Linked DNA regions of Homo sapiens: all the other regions are linked to region 7. Evidence: promoter capture Hi-C in 16 types of primary human blood cells and fetal thymus (Javierre and others, 2016). All regions are on one chromosome and are shown on one strand. The core of a region is centred on a gene start or on the middle of the fragment in contact, and the rest is flanking DNA. Distances in the headings are between cores, read along the strand shown. Region 1 overlaps NUDCD3 (NudC domain containing 3). Region 2 overlaps OGDH (oxoglutarate dehydrogenase). Region 3 overlaps DDX56 (DEAD-box helicase 56). Region 4 overlaps NUDCD3 (NudC domain containing 3). Region 5 overlaps NPC1L1 (NPC1 like intracellular cholesterol transporter 1). Region 6 holds the start of NPC1L1 (NPC1 like intracellular cholesterol transporter 1). Region 7 holds the start of AEBP1 (AE binding protein 1).

Region 1 (2,927 bases), core at 417-2,916, 370 kb before region 7:
TGCCCATACTGGAATGCAGTGACATGATCTTGGCTCACTGCAGCCTCTGCCTTCTGAGCTCAAGCGAGCCTCCCACCTCAGCCTCCCAAGTAGCTGGGACTACAGGCGTGCACCACCTTGCCCAGCTGATTTTTGTATTTTTTGTAGAGATAGGGTCTTACCATGTTGCCCAGGCTGGTGTCGAACTGGTGAGCTCAAGTGATCCACTCGCCTCAGCCTCGTAAAGTGCTGGGATTATAGGTGTGAGGCACCATGCCTGGCCATTTTTTGGGAATATTTTTGATCCTCAGCAAATATTTTGGTAAATATTTTTTGGGAATATTTTGATTTGGGCTATGGAACCCATGGATAGCGAGGGCTGACTATATCTGCTGCTTCTGTTTCTTTGGTGGAACCTTGACTTATACAGATATTTTCATGATATAATGTTAAGTGAGAAGGGGAGAATTCAAACTATATAGTCTAATATCAAATTTGAAAACTTTAAAAATTATGTATGTAGAAAAAAAGCTGGAAGAAAATAGTAGTAGTAATCACAGAGTGGTGGAATTGTGAGTGTTCTTCATTTTTATCTTTGTCCCTTACTATATTTTCTAATTTTTCTGTAATGACCATTTATTTTGTTTTATTAATTTTTTTGTATTCCTTTTATGATCTCTAAAAAATGAAAGGAGGGTATTGGTTTTGATTTCTGAGTAATAGACTAGAATAGCTACTTTGTTGTTTTGTAGAGACCCTATTTTAAAATTCTTGAACCAGTGAATTTTGTTCTGGGTTAGAATTAGAGTTAGTTTTGTGAGTTCTACCTTAAAAATAAGTATAGAGTGAAGACTTGGATATGTTTCAGGAAAGCTAACCTTTCTACTTGGTAGCTCTTTGTTCAGAATAGACTGGTACCGCAAGAATCCTAATCAAACCTTTCCAAGGACTGGAACATTCTCAGCTTCAGTTACTTGTTTTCCTTGAACAAAACAGGAAGTTGTGGCACCGATCTCTAGTTATACCTGAAATGTAGTGTTTTAGCAGATTTGAAAATAGAATGTGAAAGACCATCCTTTTCCTTGTTCTACCTTTAGCTGCACCCCAAGTCCTCCCACCAGTGTTCAGGATGGTTTATCCTATAAATTATAGATCTGCAGTTCTTTTAATTGAGTAATTTAAGGTAGTTATTCTGTAGAAGACCACACAGAAGCACCATCTTTTGTGAGCACTCTGTCTAAAATCTGAGAATCTAAGTCTTAGATTGCTGATATCTGATGACTCTTACTTGACATGTTTTTCGGTTCTAACCAGTATTAGGCAAAAACTCCCTTTTTGTATACTACAGTAAAGTCACATCACATGCTTATTTAATTTAAATAAATTCAGTGTAAGTGCTGGGAAAGAAAGAAACAAGATTAAAAATAATGTATTTATATTTTGTATATATGTATTTTGAATTTTATTTTTTTAGAGACAGGATCTTGCTGTGTTTTTCAGGCTGAACTCGAACTTCTGGGCTCAAGTACTCCTCCTGCCTCTATATATGCATTTTTGTTGTAAGGTGTTCATTACTGTATACAGACAATTGTTTTGTGTTTTAGTAAAGTATAATTTATGTAACAATACAATTCATTCCTTTTAGAATACAGTTTATGACTTTGGACAAATGTAGTCTTGTAACCACCACAGTCAAGATAGATGACCAGTATGGTTTGGCTGTGTCCCCACCCAAATCTCATCTTGAATTGCAGTTCCCATAATCCTCACATGTCATGGGAGGGACCCGGTGGGAGGCAGTGAATCATGGGGGCAGTTATATCCATGTGGTTCTCGTGATAGTGAGTTCTCATAGACGGTTTTATAAGGGACTTTTCCCGCTTTGCTTGGCACGTCTTCCTGCTGGTATGTGAAGAAGGATGTGTTTACTTCCCCTTCTGTCATGATTGTAAGTTTTCTGAGGCCTCCCCAGCCATGCTGAACTGCGAGTCAATTAAACCTCTTTTCTTTATAAATTACCCCATCTTGGGTATGTCCTTATAGCAGCATGAGAATGGACTAATACAATGACATTTCCATTGGTGCCAGACTCCCAGATCCTGGCAACCTTGTGCCTGTGTTCTGCCCTAAAGCTGTTGCAGCATACATTGTTATTTATACATAATAATGTACAGGTTTCATTTATAGTATTTTTGGGGTGATTTGGGGGAAATTTTATTTTGACCTAATTTTACCATCACTCTGATTTTAGCATCTCCCTGACTAATAACCTACAATTGGTCTGAATTTCATTCTTGTTTCTGCCCTACTGTTGCTGCCAGGGCATGTCAAATGAAGATCAGAAATGCCCCCACCCCAGGGCTTAAAGGAACCTATCTTTTTCTTTTTTTAGACGGAGTTTTGCTCTTGTTGCCCAGGCTGGAGTGCAATGGCATGATCTCGGCTTACTGCAACTTCCACCTCCCAGGTTCAAGCGATTCTCCTGCCTTAGCCTTGCAAGTAGCTGGGAGTGCAGGTGCCTGCCACCATGCCTGGCTAATTTTTGTATTTTTTTAGTAGAGACAGGGTTTCACCATGTTGGCCATACTGGTCTGAAACTCCTGACCTTGGGTGATCCACCCATCTCGGTCTCCCAAAGTGCTGGAATTACAGGCGTGAGCCACCGCGCCCGGCCCAAAGTAAATAACCCATCTTATTCCTCAGAGAAGAGAGAGAATTTGCACACAGATATTTCCCTATTTGCACAAGATAGCATCAGAGAATGTGCTTATATTCTGTAAGGATGCTTTACAATTTTAATAGTTGTTCAGGCTGGGTGTGGTGGCTCATGCCTGTAATCTCAGCACTGTTAGAGGCCGAGGCCGGCTGATCATTTGAAGTCAGGAGTTTGAGACAAGCCTCACCAACATGGTGAAACTCTGTCTCTATAAAAATACAAAAAATTAACC
Region 2 (2,700 bases), core at 124-2,623, 510 kb before region 7:
ATGAGCTACAATAATAAAAACTCTCGGTATTGGTGATGGGATAGACACAAAGATCAATGGAATGCAACAGAGAATCAGAAACAGAGTCACACAAGTACAGCCAAGTGATTTCTGACGAAAGTGCAAAAGCAATTCAATGGAAGAAAAACAGTCTTCTCAAACAAACGGTGCTGGTTAGATATTCATAAGCAAAAACCCCCCACAAAAACCAAAAAACACTCAAACTTTAAACCACATACAGAAATTAACTCCAAATGGATATACCTAATGTAAATGACGAGTTAATGGGTGCAGCACACCAACATGGCACATGTATACATATGTAACAAACCTGCATGTTGTGCACATGTACCCCAGAACTTAAAGCATAATAATAAAAAAAAACATTAAAACTTTTAGAATATCTATTTGATCTTGAGTCTTTAGGACTCAAAAAAAGCTGGCCACAAGACTAAATTTATATCAATTACATTAAAATTAAAAACTGTTCATCAAAAAGTACCATAAAGTGAAAACATAAAAAAAAAAAGAAAAAAGAAATTAAGTCTAAATGAATCATAGATTTAAATGTAAAATTTAAAAATTTTATAAAAGTGGCCAGGCGCAGTGGCTCACGCCTGTAATCCTGGCACTTCAGGAAGCCAAGGTGGGAGGATTGCTTGACCCCAGGAGTTTGAGACCAGTCTGGGCAACATGGCAAAACCCGTCCCTACAAAAAATACAAAAATTAGGCCAGGCACGGTGGCTCACGCCTGTAATCCCAGCACTTTGGGAGGCCGAGGCGGGGGGGATCACGAGGTCAGGAGATCGAGACCATCCTGGGTAACACAGTGAAACCCCGTCTCTACTAAAAAATACAAAAAAAAAAAATTAGCCGGGCATGGTGGCGGGCACCTGTAGTCCCAGCTACTCAGGAGGCTGAGGTGGGAGAATGGCATGAACCCGGAAGGCGGAGGTTGCAGTGAGCTGAGATCGTGCCACTGCACTCCAGCACTCCAGCCTGGGCGACAGAGCGAGACTCCGTCTCAAAAAACCAAAAAACAAAAAATACAAAAATTAGCCAGGCATGGTGCAGACTCCGGTACTCTTAGCTACTCAGGAGGCTGAGGTGTGAGGATCACCGGATCACCTGAGCCCAGGAGGTTGAGGCTGCGGTGAGCTGTGATCATGCCACTGCACTCCAGCCTGGGGTGACAGAGTAAGACCGTGTCTCCAAAAAAAAAAAAAAAAAAATTTAGAAAAATACATATGATAAAATCTTCAGGAATTTGGGCTAGGCAAAGAGTTCTTCAACTCAACACCAAAAGCAATCTAACAAAAGATAAAATTGGTAAACCAGACCTCATCAAAATTATAAACTTTTGCTTTGCAAAAGACCCCGTTAAGAAGATGAAAAGGGGCTGAGCGCGGTGGCTCACGCCTGTAATCCCAGCACTTTGGGAGGCCAAGGGGGTGTCGATCACGAGGTCAGGAGATCCAGACCATCCTGGCTAACACAGTAAAAGCCCGTCTCTACTAAAAATACAAAAGAATTAGCCGGGCGTGGTGGCACGCGGCTGTAGTCCCAGCTACTTGGGAGGCTGAGAAAGGCTTGAACCGGGGAGGTGGAGGTTGCAGTGAGCCAAGATTGCACCACTGCACTCCAGCCTGGGCAACAGAGCAAGACTCCGTCTCAAACAAACAAACAAACAAAAAGATGAAAAGGGCTAGGAGCAGTGGCTCACGCCTGTAATCCCAGCACTCTGGGAGGCTGAGGTGGACAGATCGCGAGGTCAGGAGTTCGAGACCAGCCTGACCAACACGGTGAAACCCCGTCTCTACTAAAAATACAAAAATTAGCCAGGTGTGGTGGCAAGCGCCTGTAATCCCAGCTACTCAGGAGGCTGAGGCGGAAGAATCGCTTGAACCTGGGAGGCAGAGGTTGTAGAGATTACGCCACTGCACTCCAGCCTGGGGGACAGAACGAGACTCCATCTCAAAAACAAAACAAACAAACAAACAAAAAAAAAACCAAGATGAAAAGACATGCTGCTGACTAGGAGAAAATATCTGCAAACTACATATCCAACAAAGCAGTGGTATCTAGAATACATTAGGAATTCTCAAAGCTCAACAGTTAACAAAAACCGAACAATCTAATTACGAAATGAACAAAAGATATGAACAGACATTTCACCCGAGAGTATACAGGGGCCAGGCATGGTGGCTCATGCCTGAAATCCTAGCCTTTGGGAGGCTAAGACAGGAGGATCACTTGATCCCAGGAGTTCAAGACCAGCCTGGGCAACATAGCAAGATCCCATCTCTTCCAAAAAAAGAGAGAATAGACAGATGGCAAATAAGCACATGAAAAGATGTTCAACATCATTAGCCATCAGAAAAATGCAAATTACAACCACAAAGAGACATTACTACACATTTATTGGAATGGCTATAATAAAAAAAGTAACATCACCAAATGCTGGCAAGTATGTGGAGAAACAAGACCATACAGTGCCGGTGGGAATGTAAAATAGTACAATCACTCTGGAAAACAGTTTGGCTATTTGTTTAATAACTAAGCACGCACTACGACTTAGTGATTGTATTCCTGGGCATTTATCTTGGAGAAATGTCAATTTATGTTCAAATAAAAATCTGTACATGAAGGTTTGTAGCAGCTTTATTTGTAATAGCCAAAGAATGGAAACAGTAAAGATG
Region 3 (2,765 bases), core at 178-2,677, 460 kb before region 7:
AACAGTCTGTAAGATGATGCCCAGCAAAAAGGGGTACAGGGTACTGCCATGTGTGTCATGGAGAAGGGAAAATGGAAACATCCACTCCCGGGAGGTTCTGAGAAATGCACAGAAGCAGCTGCCTCATGCCTTTTGAAACACATGAGTGTGTTATCCTTTGAAAAGCTAGGTCTGTGAAGTCACAGAAGAAAGATGCTCACTCTGTGGCTCTCCCTCTTCCCCCGGCAGACATACTTTGAAGACAACCCTAGGGACCTCCAGCTGCTGCGGCATGACCTACCTTTGCACCCCGCAGTGGTGAAGCCCCACCTGGGCCATGTTCCTGACTACCTGGGTGAGTGTGGCCTGACAGGGCAGGAGGCAGCAGGCTGGGGAAGTGGCATTAATTTCTCCACTGCTGGGTCAGCCCCTGTGCTTGGTGCTGGGGATGCTCAGGCAGAATAGAACCTGGAGACCCTGGCAGCACGCGGGCATGTAAACAGGCACACCCCTGTGTTTCTAAACTTGTTTGCTTGGTCCCACGGGTTAGCTGTTGCTGTCTCCATTTTAGAGATGAGGAAATTGAGGTAGTGCAGGGTGGGTGGCAGACCCAGCATTTCAGGCCAGGTCGTCTCCAGAGCTGGGCCAAATGGCCATCCATGGGTCGAAGGGAGTGAACAGGTTTGGGAGAGAGTCACGGGCAGGAGGCAGAGAGAGCCACCTGTGCTGCAAAAGACTCAAGATTAGCAGCTGCTGAAGAGGCATCTGTGGAGTCTCTGGGTAAGAACAGTCAGCAGGGAGACAGACTCTGTAAGGCCTAAACCGACAAGGTAGCAAGAGAAGAGCCAGTGGTGGTGCGAGGGATGCAGGGGTTGGCAGGCATGAGGTCAGGACCCTGGGATTGGTTTCTGTAGTGCAGCCCAGGCTAGAGCTTTATGTGGCCATTAATACTGGGCACCTCTCCTCATCTTTGGCAGGCTCTGGGTAATGACTTCTTTCAGTGTCTCATAGGAGGTGTTTTTGGTAATGAGTATGTGTGACTTTTATGCCTAAAATGGATTGAAGGAGGAGAGTGGTGGAGAGGAGGCTGTGGGCAGCAAGTGCAGGACCCTTCCCAATGCCACAGGGTCTGCTCAGCCTGGACCTGCAGCCACCCAGCGGGTGTGGTGTTGCTGCTATGGAGGTGACAAAGGGTGGAGATGGAATGTTCCAGGGCAGGAAAAGCCTGGGCACTGGGAAAGGAAGGATCCAGAAGAGATGGGAACATGAAAATGCCAGAGAGAGCGGTGGGGGCCGGGTTCCCATGGGACAGTGAGCTGGAGGAGACCCCAGTCCAGGTCCTGGCCTGAGATGTGAGGAGGGGAGTTGGGAGGGTGGGTAGGGAGGGAGAAGGTAAGGCTAGAACTTTGGCCTCAGGAACCCAGTCTGCTCGTATAGCGGAGTCATTTGCCAAGGTGTGGCCAGGAGGTTTAGAAGGGCCAGGAGAAGGTGGAAAGGTGTCAGGATGTGGGATGTTTGACATTTGAAGGGGAGGGCCCAGGTGTGGTTGGCCTGGGGGAGTCCATGGGGTGGGCGAGGTGAAGATAGAGCCAAGATCAGGTGCAGCTGGGATGCGGGGCCCCCTGTATCGGTAGTAATGGGCCACAGGTGAAGAAACTACCTGTTGACTTTTATTTCAGCTGCATTTTCTTTCTTTAAGGATGTCTGTCTTTTTCTTTCTTGTTACATGTTTGTTGTAACAAATCTAAACAATATAGGAGAGTGATTTAAATAGTGGAAGTCTAAGGTGCTCACATTCTCCTGGCCCTGTGCAGATGTGGTAGTGAATAGATGTATGTCATAGGCTGCCAGTTGGGTCAGAATTGGAGAATTTGCTGCAGAATCAGCGGGAGGGCAGGGATGGGAGCAGTAGCGGTGAGCCCACTGCTCAGGCAAGCATCTCTTCCAGTTCCTCCTGCTCTCCGTGGCCTGGTGCGCCCTCACAAGAAGCGGAAGAAGCTGTCTTCCTCTTGTAGGAAGGCCAAGGTACGGCTCCTGGGGACTGCGGACAGCCCCAGGACTCCTCCCAACCTGCTCTTTTGTCATCACCAGAATGTGGAGGCGCCTTGCCCTAGGGAGGGGAAGAGAGGGTGCCCTAGGGAGGGGAAGAGGGGGCACCCTAGAACCGGGCCCCAAAAATCTGGTGTGGGATAGGGGTACTTTTGCAGCCGCCTGCAGGCCCTGCTTTTCTTTCCCCAGCTGCCTTTCCCCATTTCCTTATCTGCAGCACCTTCTGGTCGTGTTGGCCAGTTGCCGGCACGGCTCCCTTTGTGTCTTTCTCAGTTGGGTGGGTGGGTGGGTGGATTGTCTGTCGGCCTGATTCCCCCAACTAACCTGTGACTTTGCCTCCTTAGAGAGCAAAGTCCCAGAACCCACTGCGCAGCTTCAAGCACAAAGGAAAGAAATTCAGACCCACAGCCAAGCCCTCCTGAGGTTGTTGGGCCTCTCTGGAGCTGAGCACATTGTGGAGCACAGGCTTACACCCTTCGTGGACAGGCGAGGCTCTGGTGCTTACTGCACAGCCTGAACAGACAGTTCTGGGGCCGGCAGTGCTGGGCCCTTTAGCTCCTTGGCACTTCCAAGCTGGCATCTTGCCCCTTGACAACAGAATAAAAATTTTAGCTGCCCCAGTTTGTGCCTCCAGCATATGAAAAGGACTATTTGAATCCCCAAAACATCAGGAGTCGGGAAACTTCGGAAGACAGCTGTGCCTGGCTCTGTGGCTGCATGCAGTGCTTCACTTGGCC
Region 4 (2,700 bases), core at 156-2,655, 360 kb before region 7:
GCAAAAAATTATTTGGGTTTTTATCTAAAATTGAGTTAGGTTACAGGCTCAGAAGAATGTTAAACAGCTTCTGTCTACCTGCATGTCTAATGGGATGTGTGAAGGTAATGCAGGGCAGGGGACAGTGCCCATTGACTGCCCCAAGGACACCTAACGCTGCCCACACACTCCCAAACTCCCAGGAGGCAGGGCCTACCCTCCCTTTGAGAGCTGCTGATCAAGTAGGAGTTTTCTGTTTTCATTCATATTTGAAAAGTTGGAATAATCTGCTTTATGATGTCTTTATTCCCTGAAAAGTTAAGCTAATAATATTGGTCAGTGTTTTCCTATTTAGGAACATTTTCTGAACATGTGGTCATTAGGGGATTTTAGAGTATAAGTTATGTATCTGTTAATTTTTTCTGGGTAATTATGTGGTTGAGATGCTAGTGGCACACATTATGGTTACATTTGTTCAGTAACTGTAACTCGAGCCCTGGAAATTAGGCTTCTATAAAATTTCATAGCAATTCATGAAATGTTGTTTGTAAGCAAAATGTACCCAGCTCCTTGACTAAAGTTACCTTAAATATTCTTAAAGATAGAGAGGTAATACGCATTTCTTTTTCTCTTTCTGTATGTGTGTATATATGAGAGAGAGAGAGAGAGTGTGTGTGTACATGTCCCTGATAATTCCTATCTCAGAGCAGTGGAAGTCCTCTGAGTTTGATAATATGCTTTGCATGTGCTATATTTGTGGACTGCCTCAGAACATCTCTTGGGGAGACTACCTGGGTTCAGGGACCACCTGCCTATGCACCTGAATCATGTGAGCCCTGATTTTATTTACCACGGAGCCAGGCACTTGAACACTGTCCCATCCCAACTGTGTCCATCCCAACTGTGGACAGCTTTTACACGGTCCACCTCCTTGCCTTCCAGGACCCCTTCCTCCCTTCTCCTTGGCTTCTGTGGCCCTGCACCCATGAAGGCCAGCACAGGCACCACCTTCTCTAGGAAGCATTTCTGGCATTTGAGAAAATGAGCTTTCACACAGTCTGGGTTAGGGCCCGGATCCCAAACTTTCTGTTTCTTTGTTTCCTCCCCCTTTCAACCATTATGGCTGAGGTGTGGCCATTCTGCATGTCACATGGCTGGTGAAAGACTCCTTTCTCTCTCTCTTTGGTGCTTCTTCAAAGGCTCCTTCACTTTCAATGGTATAGGTCAGATTGTACCATGTGTCTGCGGCTGACTCAATCATGGTAGCTTTTCTGTCCTTCCCATAGCATCCCTAACAGGCAGGAAATGATTTAGTCTTTATGAGTGTGCCTCCCCCCACAGGGAGACAGCCTTTTCCTGTTGCAGATCACACTGATTTTAAGAGAAGACTTCTCTTCATATGCAGCTTGCCCTTCTATCCTCCCATCCCATGTATATGTGGCATACCTTCTATGATGTTTCAGGCTCTGTTCTAGCAGTCAGACATATAGAGTGGGAGATGCTCAAGGGGCTCACAGTTTAGGGGGAGCTTGGACAAACTGTTGCAATCCCATGTGATGAATGCAGAGGAAGGGTCCAGACCCATTTTCTGGAATGTCAGAAATACTTCCTGGAGAAGGTGATGCCTGTGCTGGCCTTCATGGGTGCAGGGCCGAAGAAGCCAGGAGAAGGGAGGAAGGGATTCCTGGAAGGCAAGGAGATAGAAGAAAGCATTTGAGTTGTGTCCAGAGAATCCCCTTGGGAGGGGTATAGTCTTGAAGGAGCGTTTTGAGATAAGCAGAGTTGAACCCGTCGGGTTTTTAGGCCTGTTGTCTAGGACTACCTAGGATATGTGGTAGGAGAAAAGAATTATCACACCGTTCAAATACATTTTTAAAAATAATGAAAGATTTTCCAATGGAGGAAAACTAAAATCCTTTAATGCAGATTTTGCAAAAAAGCGTTTTTGCCAAGTGTTGACTAGTGTAGAGTTAATTCATTTGGAGTAATGTTTTATAGTATTTGTGAAATTTAGTATAGGTTAGAGTTAGTACTGGATCCAGGGTTTAAACTTTTGTTTTCTCTTTCTTTCCCCCCAAATTAAAGCATCCTATCCTTTTCATCTTAATTTCATTCATATCTTCATATTACGTTTTTGAGATAGCTGTTTATTTTTTTGAGGGGGAAATAGTGACATAAATAGGTTTAGAACCTCAGGTGGCTTAAAACCCCAGATGTAGTCAGTGGTAAATTTTTTTTTTCTTGGTTAGTCTAGTTTTGGTGTTGGTAAGTATTATATATGCTGGTGGGTTTTTAAAAAGGGCACGTGGTAGAGTCTGGCATACTATTTGGAGTCTTGTGGTAGCTGCCCACTTCCTGCTAATGCAGTAGAGCATGTTCATAATGGCCTTATATGCTTTCCTTCCTAGGGCAGGCCGTACTTAGTCATACCAGGTAAGAAATATGTTTTAAAATTTTAGTTAAACAGTTATGATGATAGCTTATAGTTTACTTTGCATTTCTTTATTTATAGAAAGATTACATTTTCTACACAGTGATTTACTGTTGTTATTTCCTACTTTGTTAACTCATTAACTCCACTTACTCATTGATGGGAGTCTGGATATTATCCTTCTGTAGTTTTACAAATCCTCACATTTTCTTATTCACTGCTTTTCTTCTATCAGTTGATTCACTGAATTTAGTGTGGGGATTTTACCACATCGATACTGCCTTCAGTGA
Region 5 (2,799 bases), core at 15-2,514, 410 kb before region 7:
GGATTCAAGTAATTCTCCTGCCTCAGCCTCCCTAGTAGCTGGGATTACAGGCACATGCCACTATGCTCAGCTAATTTTTGTATTATTAATAGAGGCAGAGTGTCGCCAAGAAACAACCTTTTTGGGCCAGGTGCGGTGGCTCACACCTGTAATCCCAGCAGTTTGGGAGACCGAGGCCGGCGAATCACTTGAGGTCAGGAGTTTGAGACCAGCCTGGCCAACATGGTGAAACCCTGTCTCTACTAAAAATACAAAAATTAGCCAGGCATGGTGGCATGCACCTGTAATCCCAGCTACTTGGGAGGCTGAGGCAGGACAATCACTTGAACCCGGGAAGCAGAAGTTGCAGTGAGCCAAGATCGCACCACTGCACTCCAGCTGCGGTGACAGTGAGACTCTGTCTCGAAAACAAAAACAAGAACAAAAAACCCTTTATTGTATAAAGGTCTTAATAACCTTAATTTCTTCTTTTTTTTTTTTGAGATGGGATCTTGCTCTGTTGCCCAGCTGGAGTGCAGTAGCATGATCTCAGCTCACTGCAGCCTCTGCCTCCTGAGTTCAAGAATTCTCCTGCCTCAGCCCCCCAAGTAGCTGGGATTACAGGGGTGTGCCACCACGCCTGGCTAATTTTTGCATTTTTAGTAGAGACAGGGTTTCACCATGTTGGGCAGGCTGGTCTTGAACTCCTGACCTCAGGTGATCGACCTGCCTTAGCCTTCCAAAGTGCTGGGATTACAGGCATGAGCCACCACACCCGGCCAATAACCTTAATTTCTTAAAAGTCATTAAGAAATAACCTTTATCTGGCAGGAGCCCTAAGCCACAGCTCTAATAATCCAACCGTTCTCATTTTTCTGTCTTCCTTTCTAGTCCTTTCCTATAGGAATATGCAAATTAAAAACCAATTAAGTTAATTTTAAAAATCCAATGCATATCTTGAAACCATACAGAGAAGAATCTCGGTTCACTAGGGAGATCTCTGTAGGCTTCACTCATCAAAGGTCAGGCCTGGGTCTCCCACAGCAGTGGGGCCAGCTATGGAGTTTGCAGGGCTGGTGCAAAACAAAAATATGGGCCTCTTGCACAAAATTTACTAAGAATTTCAAATGGTGGTGGCAGAGCCCTGAACCCCGCTTGATCACATGCCTGTGCCACTGCGTCTGCGGTGTTCTGAAGTTGTCCTGGAAAGGGCTCTGACCTTTGCCCTTCCATCTTCTGTGTGCCATGGCTGTCCAGCCTCCAGGTTCATGGCCTATCACAAGCCCCTGAAAAACTCACAGGATTACACAGAAGCTCTGCGGGCAGCTCGAGAGCTGGCAGCCAACATCACTGCTGACCTGCGGAAAGTGCCTGGAACAGACCCGGCTTTTGAGGTCTTCCCCTACACGTGAGGACCTGAGTGGCTGGGCTGGAGGGAGGTGGGGTATGGTTGCTGGAGACTGGAGGTTAGGGTGGAGGGCTTGCAAGGAGTTGCATGAGATGAGGACCAGTTTTAGGTCAGGAGGCTCTGGCTGCAGCCTTGGGCCTATTTCTTAGGCTGGTTTGTACCCCAATATAAGCCTGCCTGACCCTCAGCATTCTCCTTCTGAAGTGGGGTGTCCCACCCACCATGAGGGCCCCAGAGGCCTGAGCCTGTGACCATGCTCTGTGCTCTGGCAGGATCACCAATGTGTTTTATGAGCAGTACCTGACCATCCTCCCTGAGGGGCTCTTCATGCTCAGCCTCTGCCTTGTGCCCACCTTCGCTGTCTCCTGCCTCCTGCTGGGCCTGGACCTGCGCTCCGGCCTCCTCAACCTGCTCTCCATTGTCATGATCCTCGTGGACACTGTCGGCTTCATGGCCCTGTGGGGCATCAGTTACAATGCTGTGTCCCTCATCAACCTGGTCTCGGTAACCCAGCAGACACAGGCACCAGGGGGCCTCTGGAGGGGTGGTTGGGGATCCAGCCTCATAGAATACTCCTAGTTCTTTTTTGTTTCTTTTTTTAGAGGCAGGGTCTTGCTCTGTTGCTCAGGCTTGAGGGCAGTGACATGATCACAGCTCACTGTAGCCTCGAACCCTTGGGCTCAAGCGATCCTCCTACCTCAGCCTCCAAAGTAGCCAGGACTACAGGCACGTGCCACTGCGTCCAGCTAATATTTTAATTTTTGTTGTAGAGACAGGGTCTCACTTTGTTGCCCAGGCTGGTCTCAAACTCCTGGGCTCAAGTGATCCTCTCACCTCGGCCTCCCAAAGTGTTGGGATTATAGGCATGAGCCACTGCACCCGGCCAAATACTCCCAGTTCTGTCTAGAATCTAGATGCCTGCCCCACGCTGGTCCTGGTGGAGGCCTCATCTCCCTAGTTCCTTCCCCACCTCTGCCTTTCTTGGCTTATGCCCCCTCTCTGCCCATAGGCGGTGGGCATGTCTGTGGAGTTTGTGTCCCACATTACCCGCTCCTTTGCCATCAGCACCAAGCCCACCTGGCTGGAGAGGGCCAAAGAGGCCACCATCTCTATGGGAAGTGCGGTGAGTGGAGAGGAGTGGGCCACCCTGTGCCCCACTCGACACCCTGTGCCCTGCCTGATGCCCTGTGCCCTGCCTGATGCCCTGTGCCCTGCCTGACACCTGGCTCTGAACCCCCCAGGTGTTTGCAGGTGTGGCCATGACCAACCTGCCTGGCATCCTTGTCCTGGGCCTCGCCAAGGCCCAGCTCATTCAGATCTTCTTCTTCCGCCTCAACCTCCTGATCACTCTGCTGGGCCTGCTGCATGGCTTGGTCTTCCTGCCCGTCATCCTCAGCTACGTGGGTGAGTGC
Region 6 (2,719 bases), core at 86-2,585, 440 kb before region 7:
GGCTCATTCCCCATTCACCGACTGCTGTCATCTGGGGTCATCTCCCCAATAAACTCTTTGCACTGGGATCCTTGTTTCAGGATCTGTTTCTGGAGGAACTAGATGACAACACCGGGAACAGAGGACCTAGAGAGGCAGCTTCATGGGTGGTGGGGTGTCCGCCTCTGCCGGCCAGGGACTTGGGAGCAGTGCTGGGAAGGTGCTGGATGGAGCTGTCACTCACAGGGGCAGGTCCTTGGCTGCTGACTGTCTTCCTCTCCACTATGGCTGTCTTGAGAACTTAGGGGTCAGCCTGACCCTGCCTTGGCCCCCTTCCTCTCAGCCTCTGTCTTCTCCTGCATGAGGCTGGGTGGCTCCCCTGTGAATCAGGCAGGGGTCCACAGAACACTAGAGACAGGTCCCTTCCTGCAGCTGTCTCCAGTAGGTGGCCACGCAGGAGATGTTCCCAACAAGCTGCCCTTATCTGCAGCTCAGCTTTGGTAATGGGGGCCCATTACCAAATGGGGGTAAAGGTCATGGCCCATCCTGGTGATAGTGAGAACCCAAGGTAGGCCTTGAAGATTCCTATCAGGAGGGAGCAGAAAGTGTGTACCACACCCCTGGGCCCAGGTGGAGCAGGGCTGCTGCTCAAGGCTCCCAGCCATGCTCTGTCCCTTGCTAGGGGTGACCGGTGGGACAGGCCTGGGCAAGGGACAAGAGGGAGAAGGTCGGGGGGAAGAGGGGATGAAGAGCAAAGTGAGCAAAGGAGAGTCTTCCACTATCTGGGGTCTCTGTCAACTGTCAGGCCCTAGAGTGAGCTGTTCTTTCCCTTTGCTTCCTGGAGGAGGGGACTTTTGTCACTGCGTCACTCCACCCTGCCTGCCCCTCCGTTATCAGGCTGTTAATATTAATTAACAACAGTTGCTAGGGATGACAGTGCAGAGGGTTCCTCTGAGCCCATTGCTGGCCCTGGTCCCAAGAGGGGGTAGGGCAGAGCTGGGGTCTGAGGCTGAGCCAGGGAGGGTGCGGAGGTTCCTCGGCCATGCTGAGCTCCTGAGGCCGGGTCCCAGCCAGTGCCTGGTCCCATCTGTGCCTCCAGGCCCTGGCACCAACTCCAGCAGTGTTAGGGGCTAATAGCGTGGTCTCTCCCCTAGCTGACTCAGCCCTCTGGCTTCGGTCGCTTTGGGAAGTGAGTGGAGACCCTAGCACCTGCGTGATGAGGCTCATCTAAAGCGGGGGCCTGTGGACTGGGGCCAAACAGTGGGAGTGGTGGATCATTAACCAGCAGGGCTCAGCCTCATTGGTCCCTAACCCAGTCAGGCCAGGGTTGTCATCGAAGGGGAGGAGGCTGCCTTAATGTGTGTTCAGCCCTTGGCTGTTCCTGAGGCCTGGCCTGGCTCCCCGCTGACCCCTTCCCAGACCTGGGATGGCGGAGGCCGGCCTGAGGGGCTGGCTGCTGTGGGCCCTGCTCCTGCGCTTGGTGAGTCCCAGGGCTTGGCTCCACCTCCCCTGCGGCCTCCAGTTAGGGACCCTGGGGCCAGCCGTGTACCAGGCGAGCGTTACTGGGTGACAGCAAGGGAGCCTCAGGGCCTGCGGGCTGGGCAAGTCTCTGGACACATGAGGGATGCCAGGCCCCACAGAGGAGGGGTGCAGGTGGAGGGTTTCCAGGTTACAGGCTTGAATGCACACAGGGGTGAAAGAGGCTGCTGGACTGGGGTGCTCCAAGTCCCTCCTGTCACTGGCCCTACTGTGGGGTCCAGGCCTGCAGTTGAGGGAGGTCTGAGGCAAGGAGGTGCTGGGATGGGGTTACCTGGTGAGCATCACCTAGGGAGGACTGAGCACTCTGGAGGCTGGGAGAAGATCCAGCGCTGGCACCTCTTAAGTTCCTCGCTTACTTTGTGTCTGGGAGGTGGGTGACAGCTTTTGGCCTCAAGCAGGTGGTGGTAGTGGTGGTGGGAGTCGGGGGGCCTCCTGAACAGACTCTCCATGAGAGACCCTGGCCTCTGGATGTGGTGTACAGTGTGGGGACTCAGGCTGACTTTGACGTGGGCAGAGCCCGGGACCTTGGAGTCAGCTTTGCCTCCTTACCCATCTCTGGCCTCTCCAGCATGACTTTCCTAAGCTGCAGGTCTATCAGGCCACCCCCAGGAAGAAAGGCCAGTGTTGTCACTCCAACACTGGCTGGCTGGCACATGCCTCCAGGAGGCTTCCTACTCCCCACACTCCCCGCTTCCCTGCCCCTGCTCCATGTCCTTCTTACCCTCACACCCTCCCTGGCTGCCTGCTGCCTGGATGGCACCCAGCTGTGTCAGGGCCCACGCGTGATGTTGCTGTGCTCTGCAGGCCCAGAGTGAGCCTTACACAACCATCCACCAGCCTGGCTACTGCGCCTTCTATGACGAATGTGGGAAGAACCCAGAGCTGTCTGGAAGCCTCATGACACTCTCCAACGTGTCCTGCCTGTCCAACACGCCGGCCCGCAAGATCACAGGTGATCACCTGATCCTATTACAGAAGATCTGCCCCCGCCTCTACACCGGCCCCAACACCCAAGCCTGCTGCTCCGCCAAGCAGCTGGTATCACTGGAAGCGAGTCTGTCGATCACCAAGGCCCTCCTCACCCGCTGCCCAGCCTGCTCTGACAATTTTGTGAACCTGCACTGCCACAACACGTGCAGCCCCAATCAGAGCCTCTTCATCAATGTGACCCGCGTGGCCCAGCTAGGGGCTGGACAACTCC
Region 7 (2,700 bases), core at 55-2,554:
TGTGGGAAGCAGCCAGGAAAGATCTAGAGCTGGGGTGGCAGGGGAGGGGCTGCTGACATCAGGAATGTTGGATGGTGCCTTGGAATCTCCTGGGAGACAGGGATCACAAGACCCTCTGCCACCTTCCAGAGGGCCACGATGAAAACAGCTAAGATTTACTGACAACTGATTATGCAAGAGGCCGTGGGTTAAATGCTTCAGTGATGCATCACCTCATCTAATTTCCTGTACTAATGTAGGACCACCCATTGCTCACCACCACCTGAAGCCCTGTGCTCACCACCACCTGAAACTCTCTCACCTACGTGAGACCTCCTGGAGTAGGAGGGCAAAGGCAGGAGGGAGGGACGACGTGAAGCTGTGCCACCAACAGGGAGAGTGGTCCCATTAGTATGGCAGGGGGTGACACAGCACAGTCCCCTGTGGCTCAAGCCTAGTACCTGTCGCGTACTGGAGGAATGGGGATAAGCGACCCGTACAACCACAGCACCAACCCTAGAGCCACCGGCCCCCAAAAGCGGCCCTGCCGCCCGGGTGCTGGATGTGCCTCCACGCCAGCGCTGACCTCGGCCTAGCACAGGGTCCCTCCAGGCATCTGGGCTCGCGTGCGCATTAGTAAGCCAGCCATTCCTCCCCTAGCAGACTGGGGAGTGGCCAGACCCTACCGAATCCCCCTGTTCCCACCTGAGATGCCAGCCCCCCACACCCCCGCCCTGCCCTGGGCTCTTACCTTCTGCGGCCGTCCCTGGCCGCTTCCCTGGCTTGCCCCCCGCCTGGGCTTTTCGGACCCGCGGGGTGGGCTCGGGAGGCGGCGGGGCCTCCACGTCGTCCTCCCGGGGCTCAGGTTCTAGCTCTGACAGGAAGCCCTCGAGGAACTCCTCGATCTCGTCGTCGGTCAGCACCGTCTGCGGGCGCCCTCCAGGGCACAGGGCCAGCAACGCCAGGAGGCAGCTGAGCAGGGGCGCCCCGCGCACGGCCGCCATGGCCGCGGCACGCGCGGGGGGCTCCGGGGAGGGCGCGGGGGGTCAGGGGCTCTGGGTCTCTGGGAAAGGGCGGAGAGGGGATCGAGACGGGTGAGGGAATCCAGGAAGGGGCGGGAGAGAGGATGGGGTGAGCGAGGGAATCCGGGAAAGGGAGGGAGAGTGGATTAGGGTGGGCGAGGGGACCCGGGAAGGGGTGCTGGGGGGCTCCGAAGCCAGAGGGGCTCAGGGGTGGTCGGGGCGCTCCGAGGTCCTGGCGGCTAATAGGCGCTCCGGCCCCGCGTGGCGCACTCCCGCGCGGATAGCCGTCTCCAAAGCGCTGGCGGGGCCCGGGGCGGGGGCGCCGGGGCTTCCGGAGCCGGCTCCCCACCCCCGGGGAGGAGGAGGAGGAAGAGAAGGAGGAGCCGAGAGTGGACGGAGGGGCTGCGGGGGGGCGGGGGGCGGGGGGCGGGGGGCTAGGGGCGGGGCAGGCGGGCGGGCGCTGGCGGCGAGCGTCCCAAGCCCGGAGACTTGCGCCTAGGACAGAGGGGCAGGGGGCGGGGCGACTGGGAAGACAGAGGGCCTGAGGGAAGGAAAGGTGGTGGGGAGGGCCTGGGGTGCGGGTCTGAGGGGGCCGACATCCCTCCTCCTTCTGCCCTAGGCACCCCCCTTAAGGCGGGACCCCGAGTCCACCGGGGCTCTGAGCCCTCCGCGGGTGACCAGGAACCCTGGACGGAAAGCCGTGGTGTCAGGCCTCTGAGACCTCTCTCAATTCGGAGGGCCACAGAAAGGCCACCCCATCCTTCCCAGGCTCTGGAGCCTCTGCCCATGGGCCCTGCTGCATCCCAGCGTCAATTCATTCAGTCATCCTACCAACCTCTTCAGGTCGGTGTGGGGCCGGGCCCCGTGCTGGGCCCCAGGGAGGGACAGCACAGTGGGAACTCACTTTCCAGCCAGGAGGCAGGTGCAAAACTGCCCTCAGAGTGGCCAGCTGCCCCGCTGGGGGTAGGAGTCCCATGTAAGGGCATGCCATCCCTCCCCTCCGGGTCCCAACGTGGACAAATAGCCATTTATCACCTTCTTCTTACCAGAACTCATTTTTTAAAAAGTGTCTACCATACCTCCAGCTGCCACATGGACCCAGAGGGCCCAGAGGACCCAGAAGGCAGGTGGATTGAGTGTCAACTGATCCCAGGATCCATCAGGGATGTGCACCTTGGTGCCTGGTGTTTGCCATAAGGCTTCTCCAGGGCAAATGTTGGCTGCCCTACAACGGCCATCAACAGGCAGAGTGGTCCCATTAGTATGGCAGGGCGTGACACAGCACAGTCCCCCGTGACTCAAGCCTAGTCCCTGTCTCATACTGGAGGAATGGGGAGCTAAGGACAGAGCTCCGAGGACATTCCCCCTTAAAGGAATGAGGACACAAGAGAAAGCTCACAGGTAGTCCATGGGCCAAGTGCAGAGGCAGACAGCCCTAAGCCACGATTGTCTGCGGGGTTTGGCCCCAGTGAAGTAGTCAGGTAGGGAAGCCTAGGAGCCCCTGGGATGATTGACAGGGCAGAGTTTGGACCTGGGGTCAAAAGGAAAGAGGAAAAGTGGGTCAGGAAGCACCTGGGTCCCCAGAGCAGCCCCGAGTGAGTTGGAGCAGGCAGCAGCCGGGGAGGCCACAGTGGAGGCTGCTGGGCCTGGGATACATGCCACCCCCTGGGAGCAGGACCACAAGGAGGCCTTGCCTCCT

What was found. Contacts are between HindIII fragments. The CHiCAGO score rates a contact against its expected background, and 5 or more counts as called.
Region 1: a fragment that was not itself captured here is called in contact with the fragment with the promoter of AEBP1 in region 7 in 9 of 17 cell types (M1 macrophages, fetal thymus, M2 macrophages and 6 more); the score reaches 8.4 in M1 macrophages.
Region 2: a fragment that was not itself captured here is called in contact with the fragment with the promoter of AEBP1 in region 7 in 1 of 17 cell types (fetal thymus); the score reaches 6.4 in fetal thymus.
Region 3: a contact is called between a fragment that was not itself captured here and the fragment with the promoter of AEBP1 in region 7, in 11 of 17 cell types (M1 macrophages, M0 macrophages, fetal thymus and 8 more). The highest score is 12.0, in M1 macrophages.
Region 4: a contact is called between a fragment that was not itself captured here and the fragment with the promoter of AEBP1 in region 7, in 1 of 17 cell types (M1 macrophages). The highest score is 5.1, in M1 macrophages.
Region 5: a contact is called between a fragment that was not itself captured here and the fragment with the promoter of AEBP1 in region 7, in 2 of 17 cell types (M2 macrophages and M1 macrophages). The highest score is 10.1, in M2 macrophages.
Region 6: the fragment with the promoter of NPC1L1 here is called in contact with the fragment with the promoter of AEBP1 in region 7 in 8 of 17 cell types (M1 macrophages, M2 macrophages, M0 macrophages and 5 more); the score reaches 18.5 in M1 macrophages.

What each region holds. Positions count from the first base shown.
Region 1 is chr7:44,477,995-44,480,921 of GRCh38, reverse strand. All of the region lies in intron 2 of NUDCD3 (NudC domain containing 3), which reads left to right. Among named protein-coding and RNA genes, the nearest start is that of NUDCD3, 11 kb to the left of the region's middle. The HindIII fragment of the contact is 6,664 bases long and covers 1-2,927 here.
Region 2 is chr7:44,609,606-44,612,305 of GRCh38, reverse strand. The region is part of intron 1 of OGDH (oxoglutarate dehydrogenase); the gene reads right to left. Among named protein-coding and RNA genes, the nearest start is that of OGDH, 4.3 kb to the right of the region's middle. The HindIII fragment of the contact is 7,319 bases long and covers 1-2,700 here.
Region 3 is chr7:44,565,687-44,568,451 of GRCh38, reverse strand. DDX56 (DEAD-box helicase 56) reads left to right here. Exons shown (of 14, transcript NM_019082.4): 12 at 229-334; 13 at 1,928-2,004; 14 at 2,373-2,648. The coding sequence ends at 2,450. Among named protein-coding and RNA genes, the nearest start is that of DDX56, 6.8 kb to the left of the region's middle. RefSeq lists an enhancer at 2,289-2,765 and a silencer at 2,642-2,765. The HindIII fragment of the contact is 3,764 bases long and covers 1-2,765 here.
Region 4 is chr7:44,460,100-44,462,799 of GRCh38, reverse strand. All of the region lies in intron 2 of NUDCD3 (NudC domain containing 3), which reads left to right. Among named protein-coding and RNA genes, the nearest start is that of NUDCD3, 29 kb to the left of the region's middle. The HindIII fragment of the contact is 6,752 bases long and covers 1-2,700 here.
Region 5 is chr7:44,515,795-44,518,593 of GRCh38, reverse strand. It overlaps NPC1L1 (NPC1 like intracellular cholesterol transporter 1), which reads left to right. Exons shown (of 19, transcript NM_001101648.2): 15 at 1,237-1,387; 16 at 1,660-1,891; 17 at 2,397-2,510; 18 at 2,629-2,791. Among named protein-coding and RNA genes, the nearest start is that of NPC1L1, 24 kb to the left of the region's middle. The HindIII fragment of the contact is 7,058 bases long and covers 1-2,799 here.
Region 6 is chr7:44,539,946-44,542,664 of GRCh38, reverse strand. It overlaps NPC1L1 (NPC1 like intracellular cholesterol transporter 1), which reads left to right and starts at 1,335. Exons shown (of 19, transcript NM_001101648.2): 1 at 1,335-1,459; 2 at 2,323-2,719. The coding sequence starts at 1,406. RefSeq lists an enhancer at 2,042-2,663. The HindIII fragment of the contact is 6,836 bases long and covers 1-2,719 here.
Region 7 is chr7:44,102,949-44,105,648 of GRCh38, reverse strand. It overlaps AEBP1 (AE binding protein 1), which reads right to left and starts at 1,304. Exons shown (of 21, transcript NM_001129.5): 1 at 731-1,304. The coding sequence starts at 983. The HindIII fragment of the contact is 6,426 bases long and covers 1-2,700 here.